Regions from separate parts of the Homo sapiens genome. Here all the other regions are linked to region 3. Evidence: promoter capture Hi-C in 16 types of primary human blood cells and fetal thymus (Javierre and others, 2016). All regions are on one chromosome and are shown on one strand. Each heading gives the region's core, a stretch centred on a gene start or on the middle of the fragment in contact. The rest is flanking DNA. Distances are from core to core; before and after follow the strand shown.

What was found. Contacts are between HindIII fragments. The CHiCAGO score rates a contact against its expected background, and 5 or more counts as called.
Region 1: a contact is called between a fragment that was not itself captured here and the fragment with the promoter of PDE4A in region 3, in 1 of 17 cell types (naive B cells). The highest score is 5.2, in naive B cells.
Region 2: a contact is called between the fragment with the promoter of ICAM4 here and the fragment with the promoter of PDE4A in region 3, in 9 of 17 cell types (monocytes, total B cells, activated CD4 T cells and 6 more). The highest score is 8.3, in monocytes.
Region 4: the fragment with the promoter of CDKN2D here is called in contact with the fragment with the promoter of PDE4A in region 3 in 7 of 17 cell types (endothelial precursors, total B cells, total CD8 T cells and 4 more); the score reaches 9.1 in endothelial precursors.

Annotation. Positions count from the first base shown.
Region 1 is chr19:10,593,478-10,597,159 of GRCh38, reverse strand. No RefSeq gene overlaps it. Among named protein-coding and RNA genes, the nearest start is that of AP1M2, 8.0 kb to the right of the region's middle. RefSeq lists enhancers at 1,328-1,517, 2,992-3,516. The HindIII fragment of the contact is 3,363 bases long and covers 1-3,082 here.
Region 2 is chr19:10,284,739-10,288,553 of GRCh38, reverse strand. It overlaps ICAM4 (intercellular adhesion molecule 4 (Landsteiner-Wiener blood group)), which reads right to left and starts at 1,599. Exons shown (of 3, transcript NM_001544.5): 1 at 1,148-1,599; 2 at 716-1,018; 3 at 34-568. The coding sequence starts at 1,541. The coding sequence ends at 450. ICAM1 (intercellular adhesion molecule 1) reads right to left here. Exons shown (of 7, transcript NM_000201.3): 6 at 3,526-3,771; 7 at 1,939-3,439. The coding sequence ends at 3,267. ICAM4-AS1 (ICAM4 antisense RNA 1) reads left to right here. Exons shown (of 1, transcript NR_186335.1): 1 at 1-2,753. RefSeq lists enhancers at 1,472-1,611, 958-1,927, 1,982-2,031. The HindIII fragment of the contact is 2,558 bases long and covers 1-1,954 here.
Region 3 is chr19:10,419,169-10,422,520 of GRCh38, reverse strand. It overlaps PDE4A (phosphodiesterase 4A), which reads right to left and starts at 1,983. Exons shown (of 15, transcript NM_001111307.2): 1 at 1,437-1,983. The coding sequence starts at 1,756. RefSeq lists enhancers at 941-1,130, 2,311-3,190 and silencers at 1,341-1,390, 1,621-2,090. The HindIII fragment of the contact is 23,098 bases long and covers 1-3,352 here.
Region 4 is chr19:10,567,331-10,570,758 of GRCh38, reverse strand. CDKN2D (cyclin dependent kinase inhibitor 2D) reads left to right here and starts at 1,780. Exons shown (of 2, transcript NM_001800.4): 1 at 1,780-2,246; 2 at 3,342-3,428. The coding sequence starts at 2,106. RefSeq lists a silencer at 1,514-2,163 and enhancers at 2,444-2,613, 3,053-3,428. The HindIII fragment of the contact is 9,110 bases long and covers 1-3,428 here.

The sequences.
Region 1 (3,682 bases), core at 152-2,651, 180 kb before region 3:
TTAGTTTTTGAGATGGAGTCTCACTCTGTCGCCAAGCTGGAGTGCAGTGGCGTGATCTCAGCTCACTGCACCATCTGCCTCCCGGGTTCAAGCAATTCTCCTGCCTCAGCCTTCTGAGTAGCTGGGATTACAGCACCCACCACCACGCTCAGCTAGTTTTTTGTATTTTTAGTGAAGAACGGGTTTCACTGTCTTAGCCATGATGGTGTCAATCTCCTGACCTCATGATCCACCGCCTCGGCCTCCCAAAGTGCTGGGATTACAGGCGTGAGACACCGCGTCTGGCCCAAGCACTCTGTATTAAATCATTATAATCATTTTCCAATTGGGGAAAGTGACCCAGAGAGGTGAAGTAATTTACCCACAGTAACATAATGAGCCCGTGGCTCTGCAAGGATCTGAACCCAGGGAGTCCGACTTTACACCCAAGACACACTTCCTTCCCCTTCAACCACATGCTTTCCGGAGTAGCGTCCAGGTCATATTGTTGAGTGATAATAGCAAGTTGTATTTTTTTTTTTTTATTTAAGACAGAGTCTCTCTCTGTCGCCCAGGCTGGAGTGCAGTGGTGCGAGCTCAGCTCACTGAAACCTCCTTCTCTTGGGTTCAAGTGATTTGTGTGCCTCAGCCTCTGGAGTAGCTGGGATTTCAGGTACGCACCACCATGCCCAGCTTAGTCTATATACATATATATATATATATATATAGTTGTTGTTGCTTGTTTGTTTTGTTTTGTTTTGTTTTTGAGACAGATTCTTGTTCTGTCACCCAGGCTCGAGTGCAGTGGCATGATCTCGGCTCACTGCAACCTCTGCCTCCTGGGTTCAAGCAATTCTCCTGCCTCAGCCTCCCGAGTAGCTGGGATTACAGGTGTCCGCCAGCATACCTGGCTAATTTTTTGTATTTTTAGTAGAGACAGGATTTTATCATGTTGGCCAGGCTTGTCTCAAACTCCTGACCTCAGGTGATTCACCTGCCTTAGCCTCCAAAGTGCAGGGATTACAGGCGTGAGCCACCACACCTGGCCAGTTTTTATATTTTTAGTAGAGACAGATTTTTTGCCATGTTGCCCAGGCTGCTCTTGAACTCTTGGCCTCAAGTGCCCCACCCGCCTCTGCCTCCCAAAGTTCTGGGATTACAGGTGAGAGCCACTGTGCCCATCCACAAGTTGTATAGTCTTATATGGTATGGGAGAAAGAGAGAGAAAGAGGGCAACACGCGCACACACACACACACACACACACACACACACAAACACACACACACACCCCCCTGCATGTAACCCAGCTGAAAAAGATCTGAATCAGCCAGTGGTTATGAGAGGGACGAAGATTGGGGTATGGGGGTGTCACAGGGGACTTTTTTTTTCTTTTTCTCTCACATCTCTGCTGGGAGGAACTTTTGCCTTTTCTTTAGTTTTGTTTTCTATTTTGTTTTCTCAGGAACTGGCTCAGCACAGTATTTTCTTAAGATAGGTTCTTGCTTTGTCACCGAGGCTGGAGTGCAGTGGTGCAACCATAGCTCACTGCAGCCTCAATCTTCTGGGCTCCAGTGATCCTCCCACCTCAGACTCCTGAGTAGCTGGGCATGGTGGCTTACACTTGTAATCCCAGCACATTGGGAGGCTGAGATGGGTGGATCACTTGAGGTCAGGAGTTTGAGACCAGCCTAGTCAACATGGCGAAACCCAGTCTCTACCAAAAATACAAAAATTAGCCCAGCGTGGTGGCAGATGCCTGTAATCCCAGCTACTTGGGAGGCTGAGGCAGGAGAATCACTTGAACTAGGAGAAGGAGGAGGTTGCAATTAGCTGAGATTGCGCCACTGCACTCCAGCCCCTGGGCGACAAAGTGAGAATCCGTCTCAAAAAAAAAAGAAAAAAAAGCTGGGCGCGGCGGCTCACGCCTATAATCCCAGCACTTTGGGAGGCTGAGGCAGGCACATCTCCAGGTCAGGAGTTCCAGACCAGCTTGGCCAAGAGACCAGCCTGGCCAATATGGCGAAACCCTGCCTCTACTAAAAATACAAAAATTAGCCGGGTGTGGTGGCAGGCACCTGTAGTCCCAGCTACTCGGGAGGCTGAGGCAGGAGAATGGCATGAACCCGGGAGGCAGAGCTTGCAGGGAGCTGAGATCGTGCCACTGCACTCCAGCCTGGGCAACAGAGCGAGACTCTGTCTCAAAAAAAAATAATAATAAAATAATAAAAGTAAATGAATAAATAAAATATAAAAAAATAAAATTAGCTGGGCGTGGTGGGGGGCGCCTGTAATCCCAGCTACTCAGGAGGCTGAGGCAGGAGAACTGCTTGAACCTAGGAGATGGAGGCTGCAGTGAGCCGAGATTGTGCCACTGCACTCAAGCCTCGGTGACGGTGAGACTCCATCTCAAAATAAATAAAAAAAAGAAAAGAAGAAGAAGAAGGAGGAGGAGGAGAAGGAAAAGGAGAAGAAGAAGAAGAAGAAGAGTGGGTGCCAGGGGTTGGGAGAGGGAGAAGGAGTGTTTCATAGGGAGAAGTTTTCCTTTGGGAAGATGAGAAAGTTCTGGAGATGGATGGTGGTGACGGTTGCATGGCCATTAATGTGCTTAATGCCACCGAACTGTGCACTTCAAAATGGCTAAGGTGGCCAGCTGTGGTGGCACGTGTCTATAGTCTCAGCTACTTGGGAGGCTGAGGTGGGAGGATGGCTTGAGACAGCAGGAGAGGAACTGAAATTCGGGCAGTTAGGGTGTCTGGGACAGCAGGTTCAGGTGGTGTCCTGTGGCAGAGGTCAGCAGGTGTCTGACTGTGCCAGGTGGGGGTGGTTGGAGGGCAATGGGGGGCCATAGAGGATGTGAGAGTGAGAGTCAAAAAATAATTGTGAGTTTCAGAGAGATCTCTTTAGTGGTGTGGAGAAGGGATTGTGGACAGGGCCTAGAGGCGTGGTCCCTGGGAGAGGCTGGAGGAGGCTCCAGGCATCCAGAAGGAACTAGGACAAGGCCACAGCCTCAGGGGGATGGGGGAGGCCGCCACTGAGGTGGGGCAGGCGGGGCAGGCAGAGCCAGCACACAGAGCTGCTCTGTTCTCTGACCCCAAGTAAGCTTTTGGGCTCATGAATTTTTCATGCCAAACAAGCCTGGAGTTTCAGATTCCAGGGCACTGGGCCCAGGCTTTCGGGTTCTGCTTACTGCCTGAAAACATCTCAGGGCCCCAGGAGATGAGTTCTTCATTTTGTTGTTGTTGTTGTTTTTGAGACAGAGTCTCACTCTATTGCCCCAGGCTGGAGTGCAATGGCGCAATCTTGGCTCACTGCAACCTCTGCCTCCCAGTTTCAAGTGATTCTCCTGCCTCAGTCTCCTGAGTAGGTGGGATTACAGGCATGTGCTACCACCCCCGGCTAATTCTGTATTTTTAGTCCAGACAGGGTTTCACCATTTTGGCCAGGCTGGTCTCAAACTCCTGACCTCAGGTGATCCACCCACCTCAGCCTCCCGAAGTGCTAGGATTACAGGCGTGAGCCACCACGCCCGGCTGCCAGGAGACGAGTTATTTTGAGGTTCAGCAATGTCTAGGCTGGGGTGAGGGCCTAGCAGTGACTGCATCCCCCTAGGTGACCTTCTCAGCAGGCAGTTGCTGGGAGCATGAAGGACCACCCCCCTCCTTTGGGCAGAAGCAACATAAAGTCTTGGGCTTTAGGCTGGGC
Region 2 (3,815 bases), core at 350-2,849, 130 kb after region 3:
GTAATGCGGACCCTTAGGTCACAGGACAGAGGCTGGTTAAGGAAGCCTTTATTGATTCCAGAGGGTTCCCCCGCCAATATTTATTTTTATTTTTATTTTATTTTTGGAGACAGGGTCGTGCTCTGTCCCCCAGGCTGGAGTGCAGTGGCACGATCAAGGCTCACTGCAACCTCGACTTTCAGGGCTCAAAGGATCCTCCCAACTCAGCCTCCCGGGTAGCTGGGACCACAGGTGCGGGCCACCACACCAGGCTAATTTGTGTATTTTTTGCATAGACGGGGTCTCACTATGTTGTCCAGGCTGGTCTCGAACTCCTGGGCTCAAGCGATTCTCCTGCCTCGGCCTCCCAAAGTGCTGGGATTACAGGCGTCAGCCACCATGTATGGCCATTTCCCCAGATTGTTTCATATTCCTCTTTTTCTCGCTCAGCCGGCATAGAACATCCCCCTTTACGCCTGGGACTTCATAGCTAGGCACTTGCATAGGTACGCAGCGCCCACAGTGAGGAGGATCCCTACAAGGGCAGCGATGGAACCGGAGGCCAAAGCTGTGGGCGCGGGGCTCCAAGCTGGGAGCAGAAGGCGAGAATTAGGAACGGAACACAGGGAGGTCTGTCGACCCGCGTGGAGCTCACGCTTGGTCTGTGCGCCCTCTCGGGGTCATAACTCTCTCTGCCCCCTTCCTCCTAGTCCCCAGGGTTACAGGGGTGCCTCACCGAGCATCAGTGTAATGGGTGCCGAGCTGTTGCGGACCACCAGGCCGTCGAGATTGAGGCGCGCGTGGCAGATCACGGGCTGCCAGAAGTCGCGGGGTCCAGCAGCAAACTCGTAGGTCAAGGTCACGTTGGCCAGATCCAGGCCGGTGAAGCGCTCCAGGCTTTCGGAATAGATGACCCGGCTTCCATGCCTCAGGGTCACCACCAAGTAGCCCACCGGGAACACCTGCGTCACGTGGCAGCGCAAAGTGTATTTCCTGCCCTTTAAGACCGGAGGCTCCAAAATCACGCTGTGGGGCGGTTCTAAGGCAAGGGGGAGCCTCTGAGTGAGGTCCGCGGGCGCTCCCTATAGAGCGACTGTCAACTACCCTTCCCCCACCTCTTCCAGCCCCCTCCCCTCACCCCAGCCGGGACCGAGCCCCTGTCCCTCACTGTAGGCGGTGATCCTGGAGGTGGCCCAGCGTGTTTTTCCTGCGCAGGTCACGAGGCAGTGCGCGAGGGAGCTCCAGGCCCTCACGTCGAGCAGCTGGTAAGACACCCAACCCGGCCCTCTGAGCGTCTTGCCTTGCCGCAGCGGGGTGCGGAGGCTGGAATTCTGCGGCTGGGGACAGCTGTTGCTGCAATTGAGCTGCACTGACTTCCCCGGCTGCACAGCCACGAACTCCGGGCTCATGCGCACCCAGAAGGGCACTGAGGTCCCGGAGGGCGCGAGAGGGCTACCCTTGGGGCTTTGCGCCCGCTTAGTCCGGCGTCCCAGCGCGCTCCCAACTCCCGGGTAGGCGGCCGCCAAAAAAAACAGCAGCGACAGAGGGAACAGAGACCCCATGGCAAAAAGCCCGGACTAAGGGGCCCCGCGCCAGAGAGCCAGGGCCGGCTCTAGAGATAAGGAGGCCCGCAGCCCCGCCTCCTCGACTCCACCCTGGAGAGGAAGGGGAGGCCCCAACAGAGGGCCCGGGAGTACTGCAAAAAGGGATTCCGCTCCCCAGGTCAAGAATAAGATTCCAGGCCTCATTAGAAACCAAATGTTTTTTTCTGGAGAGGAGTCTTTAGTTTTCACTAGAGACCCAGAAGGTCATAGAAAGTCCGATTTGGACCAGAACCTCAGGGTATGGCCATCAACCCACAATGTTTTCTTGGGGGAGGAAGTGGGAGGATCAGGCTGTGGCTGCTTAGAAAGGACTCCAGCTGGATGTGACACCTCCCCTCAACTCACACAAGGCTGAGGCAGTTGAGAAAGCTTTATTAACTAACACAAAGGAAGTCTGGGCAATGTTGCGAGACCCCGTCTCTGGAAAAAAAAAAAAAATCAAATTTGCCAGGTGTGGTGTTGTGAGCCTATGGTCCCAGCTACTCAGGAGGCTGAGGTGGGAGGATCACTTGAGCCCAAAAGGTCAAGACTGCAGTGAACCATGATTGCACCACTGCACTCCAGCCTGGGTGACAGAGCGAGAGCTTGTCTACACATACACACACACACACACGCGGATGAGGCTTCCAAAGCTGGGAGGGAGTCCTCCAATACCTTGGCCCCCTTCCCCACTGCTTGCAGGACCCTGATCACTGCAGGAAACTGGAGCTGCATAGTGCAAGCTCCCAGTGAAATGCAAACAGGACAAGAGGACAAGGCATAGCTTGGGCATATTCCCTGGGCACTCATGTCCAGACATGACCGCTGAGTGTCATTGTGAACACTGGCAGAAATGTATGTGGGTGGGGAGGTGGCTAACAAAGGTGTCAGTTTTGGGGGGAAGGGAGGAATAAGGCCTCACTGGGTAATCTCTGAACCTGTAACCATTACCAGTCCATATAGTGCTTTTGTGCCGATAGAAAAATCACTCCTTCTGGGGAAAGGCAGGTTGGCCAATGAGAAGTCCCAGCCCCATTTGATCTTTTTGCCAGGCACTCTCCTGCAGTGTACAACCTGTACAACTGTACCTGGTGACCTTGAATGTGATTAGGACTGGGAGCTCCGTGAGGCCAGAGACCTATGTTCATTTAGCCTACATAAAAGACACTCAATAAATAGCTGGTAAAATAACAAATGAATAAATACATATCATCAAGGGTTGGGGTCAGTAGACAGCAGTGCCCAAGCTGGCATCCGTCAGGAAGTGTGGGCCTTTGTGTTTTGATGCTACACATGTCTATGGAGGGCCACTTCTTCTGTAAGTCTGTGGGGCCTCAGCATACCCAATAGGCAGCAAGTTTCAGTATTTCCCAGTTGTATGTCCTCATGGTGGGGCTATGTCTCCCCCACCACTTCCCCTCTCATCAGGCTAGACTTTAACATCCATCAATCATGTCTTGAGTCTTGCTCCTTCCTCTTGGCTTAGTCATGTGACTACAGATCAGATGCGTGGCCTAGTGTTTTAGGTGTGCAGGTACCATGGCCCCAAATGCTGTTGTATCTGACTGAGGACAATGCCCTGTCCTCCGGCGTCCCAGGGCCGGTAGGTGTAGCTGCATGGCATATGTCTTCCACTCTGTTCAGTGTGGCACCACTGCCACCAATATGGGAAGGCCGAGGAAGAGGCCCTGTCCCGGGATAGGTTCAGGGAGGCGTGGCTTGTGTGTTCGGTTTCATGGGGGTCCCTTTTTGGGCCTGTTGTAGTCTGTATTTCTTGATCTTCCGCTGGCGGTTATAGAGGTACGTGCTGAGGCCTGCAGTGCCCATTATGACTGCGGCTGCTACCACAGTGATGATGACAATCTCATACCGGGGGGCTGTGGGGAGGATACAACAGGCGGTGAGGATTGCATTAGGTCCATGGCCCCTGCCCCCACCCAGCTCTGCCCGCCGGCTCACTCACAGAGCACATTCACGGTCACCTTGCGGGTGACCTCCCCTTGAGTGCTCCTGGCCCGACAGAGGTAGGTGCCCTCAAGATCTCGAGTGACAGTCACTGATTCCCCGATGGGCAGTGGGAAAGTGCCATCCTTTAGACACTTGAGCTCGGGCAATGGGTTCCCCCAAGCCTGGCACATTGGAGTCTGCTGGGAATTTTCTGGCCACGTCCAGTTTCCCGGACAATCCCTCTCGTCCAGTCGGGGGCCATCTGGAAAAACACGATGAGATGACATGGAGGTGGGTGGGGGCAGG
Region 3 (3,352 bases), core at 734-3,233:
CATCCAGGTAGAGCACACGGGCAAAGCTGTCAGTTGCACACATCGCTGGAGCACAAGCAATCAGACCCTGGAGCACCATCAGAGGAGGAACAATAACTAAGAACACCAGGTGGTTAGAGGACACCAGTTCTTAGGATACACCAGGCAGAGGGAACACAGACCACATGTCAGAGCACCGACGCTCAGACGTGAGCACCTGGTGAAGACTAACACACAGCCACTGTGTTTCAATCACAGTGTCCAAGGAGCACAGACTGTTCCACGAACTCAATCACATTGTTCCCCAAGTGTAAACACCCCAGTGCCACAATCACTGCATGCCAGAAATGACACTGTCACAATCACATTGTCCCTAGACCACCAACACCATTGCACAATCACTGTCCTAGGAGCAGAAACAGTCACTCTATCCCAATCACTGCATCCCATGAGGCCACAGTCACCCTGTGACAGTCACAGCATTCTTGGAGCACACACAGTCACTGTCGCAAACCCTGTCCCAGAAACACACAGTCACACTACCCTGGAAATACACAGTCACACTGTCACAATTACACTGTCCCTGGAGGACACAGAGTCATCGTGTCACCATCACAAGACCCCAGAAGCTCACACAGAGCACACAACTGAGGTAGCCACAGCTGGTCATACCCGGACAGCTGGAGCAAACGGAGGTCAATCGGAGAATACCCTCAGAGGAGACCAAGCTCAACACACATGCACCCTCACTATGCTGTCACCTCTGCAGTCAGGGACTCCTTCCCTCTGTGCTGGGACTGCGCCCCCCCTCCACTGTTTCCTGCCTCTGAACAGCTACTTAACGCTAACACTCTTGCCCTGAGAGGGGAACTCCAATCTAACGCAAGGCTCCCAAAACAGTGCTCCCCCAAGAGGCACCCTCTGGATTTCTGACCCCAGCTGCTGCAGGAGGAGTCCACTAACATCCCCGCAATAGAGTCCTCCATCCCCTAGAAGGACCCTGAGAGCACCCCACCCTGAAGTAAAGATCCTGGTCCTAGCAGGCACCCCCTTATGGAGTGCTCCAAGAGTACCCCAAACACTGCGAATCTAGCCCTCAGTATAGTGCCCCCAGGAAGGTCCCTCCAAGTGGTTCCCAGCTTAGCAGCTGTTCTGCACTGTCACCAAGAATACAGACCCCTAAGTGTGCAGCCCCCTTCCCCAACCCAGACCTCGTTAACACCACGCGCAGCGTGGCGCCCCCTAAATGGACCCCAGGATGGGCTTCAGCAGGAAGCCTCCCGTAGAGCGCACAACCAGGGGCCAGGTCCCAGACGCCCCCGCAGCCGAATTCCCTCCGCCCCCGCCAGCCAAACCGACCCCACCCGCATCCTAGCGCCCCCTGCGGCCGGCAGCTCGAGTTGCCTCCTCCCTGCGCGCCCATCCGTTCCGCGCGCATCCGCCGCGGGGAGTCTTACCGCCTGCTGCTGCCTCCGCCCGCGCCGCCGCTGCCGGTGCCAGTGCCATGGAAGGACGAGGGCCAGGACATGCGGGTCGTGCGCAGGCCGGGCCGGTCGCTGGTGTCCATGGCATCGGCGCGCTCTATGGGCCGGTGCGGCTGCCGCTCCCGCTCGGCGCGCTCCGCGCTGTCGGAGTAGCCGCGCTGCTGGATACGGATGGGGGTCCGAGGCTGCCGCCACAGGTGCTGCGGGGGAGGCTTCAGGGTGGCCTGGCCCTCCCGGGGCCCGGGCAGTGACAGAGACAGGCTCCTTTCCGAGGGGACGGTCGGGGGTTCCATGGCGCCGGCCCCCACTTGCGCCCCAGGGGGCCCTGGCCCTTCCAACCTACACCCCGCTCAGCTGCGCGCAAGCCAGCGAGCCCAGGGCCCCGCGGGTGCGCCCGGCCGCGGTAGGGCCATGGCGCCCCGGGGACAGACCCGGGGGCGCTGCGGGCCAATCGCCCCCGGGCCGGGCTCTGCAGCTTCCTTTCGGCGCCTGGAGCTCTGCTCAGTGCCCGGCGGCGCTCTCCGCGCTCCGCGCTCCGCGTTCCGCGGCCCGCTCGGCGCCAGCCCCGGCTCCTCCGCCCCGTCCCGCCCCTCCCCGCCCCCCGCCCGCCGCGGCTGTCAGCGCCGCCCCCCTCCTCCTCCGTCCGGGCCAGCGGGGGGCAGCTACCTAAGGAGGGGGGCCCTTCCCGCCCACGCAGATCCCCGCTCCGGGCTGGGAGGGGGCGCTGGAACTCGTCTGTCTTCAAAGCACCCTGCTTGGCCGCGGCGCGCACAGGCACGAAGGAGTTAAACGGTTAATCCGATCTGGAAGCAGACACCGGACTGGTTGCCAGAGTGTCAGTCAGTCGGTCCATCATGGCGAGGGCGGAGTCCGGTGTTGGCGTGTCCTCGCCGCTACCCCTGGCGGGGGGCAGTTTTTGAGGAGTGGTCCTAGTGCCACCGGCGCGGTACCTGCAGCGGGCGGCGGCAGAGTGTGTGGGATCTCCTGTCTGTGCGTCGGAGGATAGTGATGGTGCGGGCCCGGGGCGGGATGTGCGCGCACGTGGCCTCTTCCGAGGGTTGTCTGTGTTTTCAGTGTCGGCTGGAAGTGTGTGTGCGCACGTGGTTGGCTGCTGTTGTCTGCCCGTTTCTCTGGATTTGGCTGTGTGTATAACTGTGTGTGTCTGTGGGTGAAGGATGTGTGCGCACATGTGCTACCTATTTGGAGGATGTGCATCCCTACGTGGTCTTTTTTCAGGTGGCCTGGGGACTGTGAATGTGTTCTCAAGCGCTTGGATGCGTTTGTGGTCGGTGTGTGCTTGCGGAGTTGTGCACGCGATTCGGCCTCTGTCGTCTGACTGTAGTGTCGGAGGACGTCTATGTATGTTAGTGTGTGCGTGTGCGTGAGTGTATGTGTGTGGTCGGCCTGGGGCCTCTGGGGTGTTTCTGGGGTGTGTCCCATTGGTTCCCTTGTGGCTCCAGGAAGACACCCTGTGGCGGATACCGCAGCTGCCGGCCCACCGCTCTATACATCGCTGCCTCTTCTAAAGCGCTTCTGCCAGAGGTAAACTGAGGAAGGTCCCAGGTAGCCGCGGAGCGCACCCCCGTGCCCTTTTCAGGCGAGTAAACAGGCGAGCCTCCTCCCTGCGGCCCCCGCCAGCAGAGCCCCCCTTCCGGCACCTAAATCGGGAGTCGCCGTGACTCACGCTCCCGCCTCCCCCAGCGCCGCGCCGAGCGAGCAAGCAGAGAGCGAGCGGGATCCGAGTGCGCCCCCATCCCCCTCAACCCCCCCAAGGATGGCTGCTGGGCGGGGGGAGTGCACGCGCCCGCGTGTCCCACCGCCCCCCCCCCCCACGCCGATAAGAGCTCGAACGCGAAACTGCTCTGCTGCGGGACCCGGGGACCAGACCC
Region 4 (3,428 bases), core at 531-3,030, 150 kb before region 3:
CTTTTTCTTTTCTTTTCTTTTCTTTTTTTTTTTTTTTTGAGACAGAGTCTCACTCTGTTGCCCAGGCTGGAGTACAATGGCGCGATCTCGGCTCCTGCGACCTCCGCCTCCTGGGTTCAAGCGATTCTCCTGTCTCAGCCTCCTGAGTAGCTGGGATTACAGGTGCGTGCCACCAGGCGCAGCTAATTTTTTTTTTTTTTTTTTTTTTTTTGAGACGGAGTCTCGCTGTCGCCCAGGCTGGAGTGCAGTGGCGCAATCTCGGCTCACTGCAGGCTCCGCCCCCTGGGGTTCACGCCATTCTCCTGCCTCAGCCTCCCGAGTAGCTGGGACTACAGGCGCCCGCCACCTCGCCCGGCTAATTTTTTATATTTTTGGTAGAGACGGGGTTTCACCATGTTGGTCAGGCTGGTCTTGAACTCCTGACCTCGTGATCCGCCCACCTCAGCCTCCCAGAGTGCTGGGATTACAGGTGTGAGCCACCGCGCCCGGCTTTTTGCCTTTCCGTTTCAATGGCTCATCTGGTCAGTCCTCTACCACTCTAAAAAGATTTAACTATTGGCGGAGAGCAGGAGCTCACGCCTGTAATCCCAGCACTTTTGGAGGCCAAGGCAGAAGGATCCGTTGAGCCCAGGAATTCGGGACCAGCCTGGGCAACAAAGCAAGAACCCCAACATAAAAAAAAAAATCTGTATTTAAAAGCCAAACACAAATAACAAACAAAAAACACCAGCCTGGGCAACATAGTGAAACCTCATATCTACTAAAAACACAAATTAGCCGGGCGTGGTGGTGCGCCCTGTAGTCCCAGCTACTCGGGAGGCTGAGGCAGGAGGATCACTTGAGCCCGGGAAGTCGAGGCTGCAGTGAGCTGTGATCGCGCCACTGCACGCCGGCCCGGGTGACAGGAGTGAGACCCTGACTCAAAAATAAATACATATATAAATAAAAATTAACTATTGTCTCTGGCCCCAGACCATAGGTGTCCCTGCAGCAGGGGCCGACTGGCGTGCTCTCCACTCGGGCCCCTCTAGGAGGTGCTAAGTAAATATTTGAACGAAGACCTCTGAGTCCCTGTCTGGCTGCGACTATGTCCTCTCAGGCCTTCCCACGTGGCAGCTGCAGGCTCCTTTCCTGCTGGCTCAGTCTGAGCCCGGCAGGGTGATCCCTTCCTCATCCACTCCGTCTCTCCGTTTCCCTTTCTTCACGGTGCTTGACACTATCTAATATTATTTGGTTGTTTGAATGTGCGCGTCCAGCTCCCAGGACGCTCCCTGCACACAGTGAATGAATAAATGAATGAAATAAAGCGCCCAGCTCGTAGTAAGGGCCAATGAATGTCTATTAGTAGTGGAACCTCGGATTGGGTGGCTCCAGCCCTGCCTCCCTTCCCTCAGGAGGCGCCGAGGTCCCAGAGCAGCCCGCGCGACCCTGCCCCTGACCTTTCTCCCTGGGTCAGTTAAACCAGCCTTCTTTCCCGCCTGCCGGGTTCATTTGAAAACCGAAAACCCCGCCATTGCCGGCGGTCCACCGGTTGCCACACTCTGACCAATCAGGAGCGACGCGTTTCACGCCGAGCCCGAAGTTTCCCCGGCGACGCGCAGCCACTGGTTATGCAGGCCCTGTGGGCGGAACGCCGTAAGGTCGCGCGCCGGGCAACGCGGTGCCGCTACACAGTAGCGAGTTTGTAAGAAAACAAATCAGTTGCGTTCGGGGCGTGGCCGGGAGCACGTTGGCTCCGCCCCCTGGCGGCTGCCTCAGCGGCGGCGGCGGCGCAGGCTCAGAGCAGACCCCGCCCGGCGAGGAGGAGGGAGGGTGAGTTAGGGGGAGACCCGGCCCCCAAGGGGCGGGCGCCGGGCAGGGCCCCGCGGGCGGCCGAGGGTTGGGCCCGGCTCCCAGCCCCTCGCCGTCCTCCGGCTGACAGGGGGAGGAGCCCGCCGGGAGGGCCGGGGTCTCGGGCTGGGGAGCCGGGACGGGAGAGCAGCGCAGCCGGGTGCACCGCGGCCGCGCCCCGGGAGGGCTGTTCGGGCCAGCGCCCGCCGGCTGCTCCGCGCTGACAGCGCCGGGCTGGGGCGGGGCGGGGGGCTTTGCAGGCCGCCAGTGTCGACATGCTGCTGGAGGAGGTTCGCGCCGGCGACCGGCTGAGTGGGGCGGCGGCCCGGGGCGACGTGCAGGAGGTGCGCCGCCTTCTGCACCGGGAGCTGGTGCATCCCGACGCCCTCAACCGCTTCGGCAAGACGGCGCTGCAGGTGAGGCCGGGCCGGTCCAGGTTGGGGCGGGGCGGCTAAGCGGGATGAGGATCGAGACCCCAGAGCTCCTCTCTGGTCTCCTGGCCCTGGTGGTGACCCACTGGGAACCGGTCCTTCTTCTCTAGGCTTTCATTGTTCCCCCACAGTCCCCCTTCGAAGGTGGGTGGTGGGTGAGGCTAGGTTGTGGGGGGAGGGGAGAGCTTTTTAGCATCTTCTCTGGGAGGATTCCTGGTTCTCTGAGTGCCGGGGATTCACTTTCCCTGGGGAGGTTCTTATTCCGTGGGTGCGGGTTCAGCTCCTTTGGATGCCGTTTCCATGGGGACGGCTCACGTTTCTTGGGGCTTCTATGGGGAGATCCGATCTCTGGAAGGAGAGGTCCTGTCTCTAGGGGTTCCTCATTTTGTAGGGGGCTCTCTGAGACAAATCTGGTTACTTGGGGGTGGGGTCTTCATTCCTAAAGGTTATGCGGATCCTTGATATAGTATGGGGGCCCCAATGGAGGAACAATGTCAGATTGCAAGACATCCCTATATTCCCTGGGAGACATTTTACAGGGAAGTCTCGTTTCTCTTTTATTATTACTTTTGGAATCCCGCTTCTTGAAAGGAGCTCTCAGGTACTCTGAGGTGACATCACCATTATGTAGGAGGAGGCTATTTCCTGGAGAAGGGGTTCGCTTTCCTTTGACATCTTTTTTCCCTTATGAGGACTATCAATTCTTTGGGGGTAGTTCTCCATCTCTGGGGGCCCATTTCCTGGAGGGGATTTTCTGTTTCCTGGTGATTGCCCATATCTGGGGGCGTCTTTGGTCCCTTGGGGGAGAGTCTTAGGTTCCTTGAAAGTTTCCATGGGGGGCTGTTCTCTGGGTTGGGGGGTCTCATTCTTAAGGGAGTGACCAGCTTTTGGGGGGGGTCCCTATTCCCAGAAGAACTTTCCTGGGGGCTTATGCAGCTTCTCCGTTCACTAGAGGACCCCTCCTCTAGCATTTCCTGTTTCTGGGAGATGCCTCTTTCTGGATGACCCTTCTCTTTCCAGTGACCCCTTTTGTGGAACCTCCTCCCTTGAGGACCTCCTGATCCTCTGTCCCTCACACAGGTCATGATGTTTGGCAGCACCGCCATCGCCCTGGAGCTGCTGAAGCAAGGTGCCAGCCCCAATGTCCAGGACACCTCCGGTACCAGT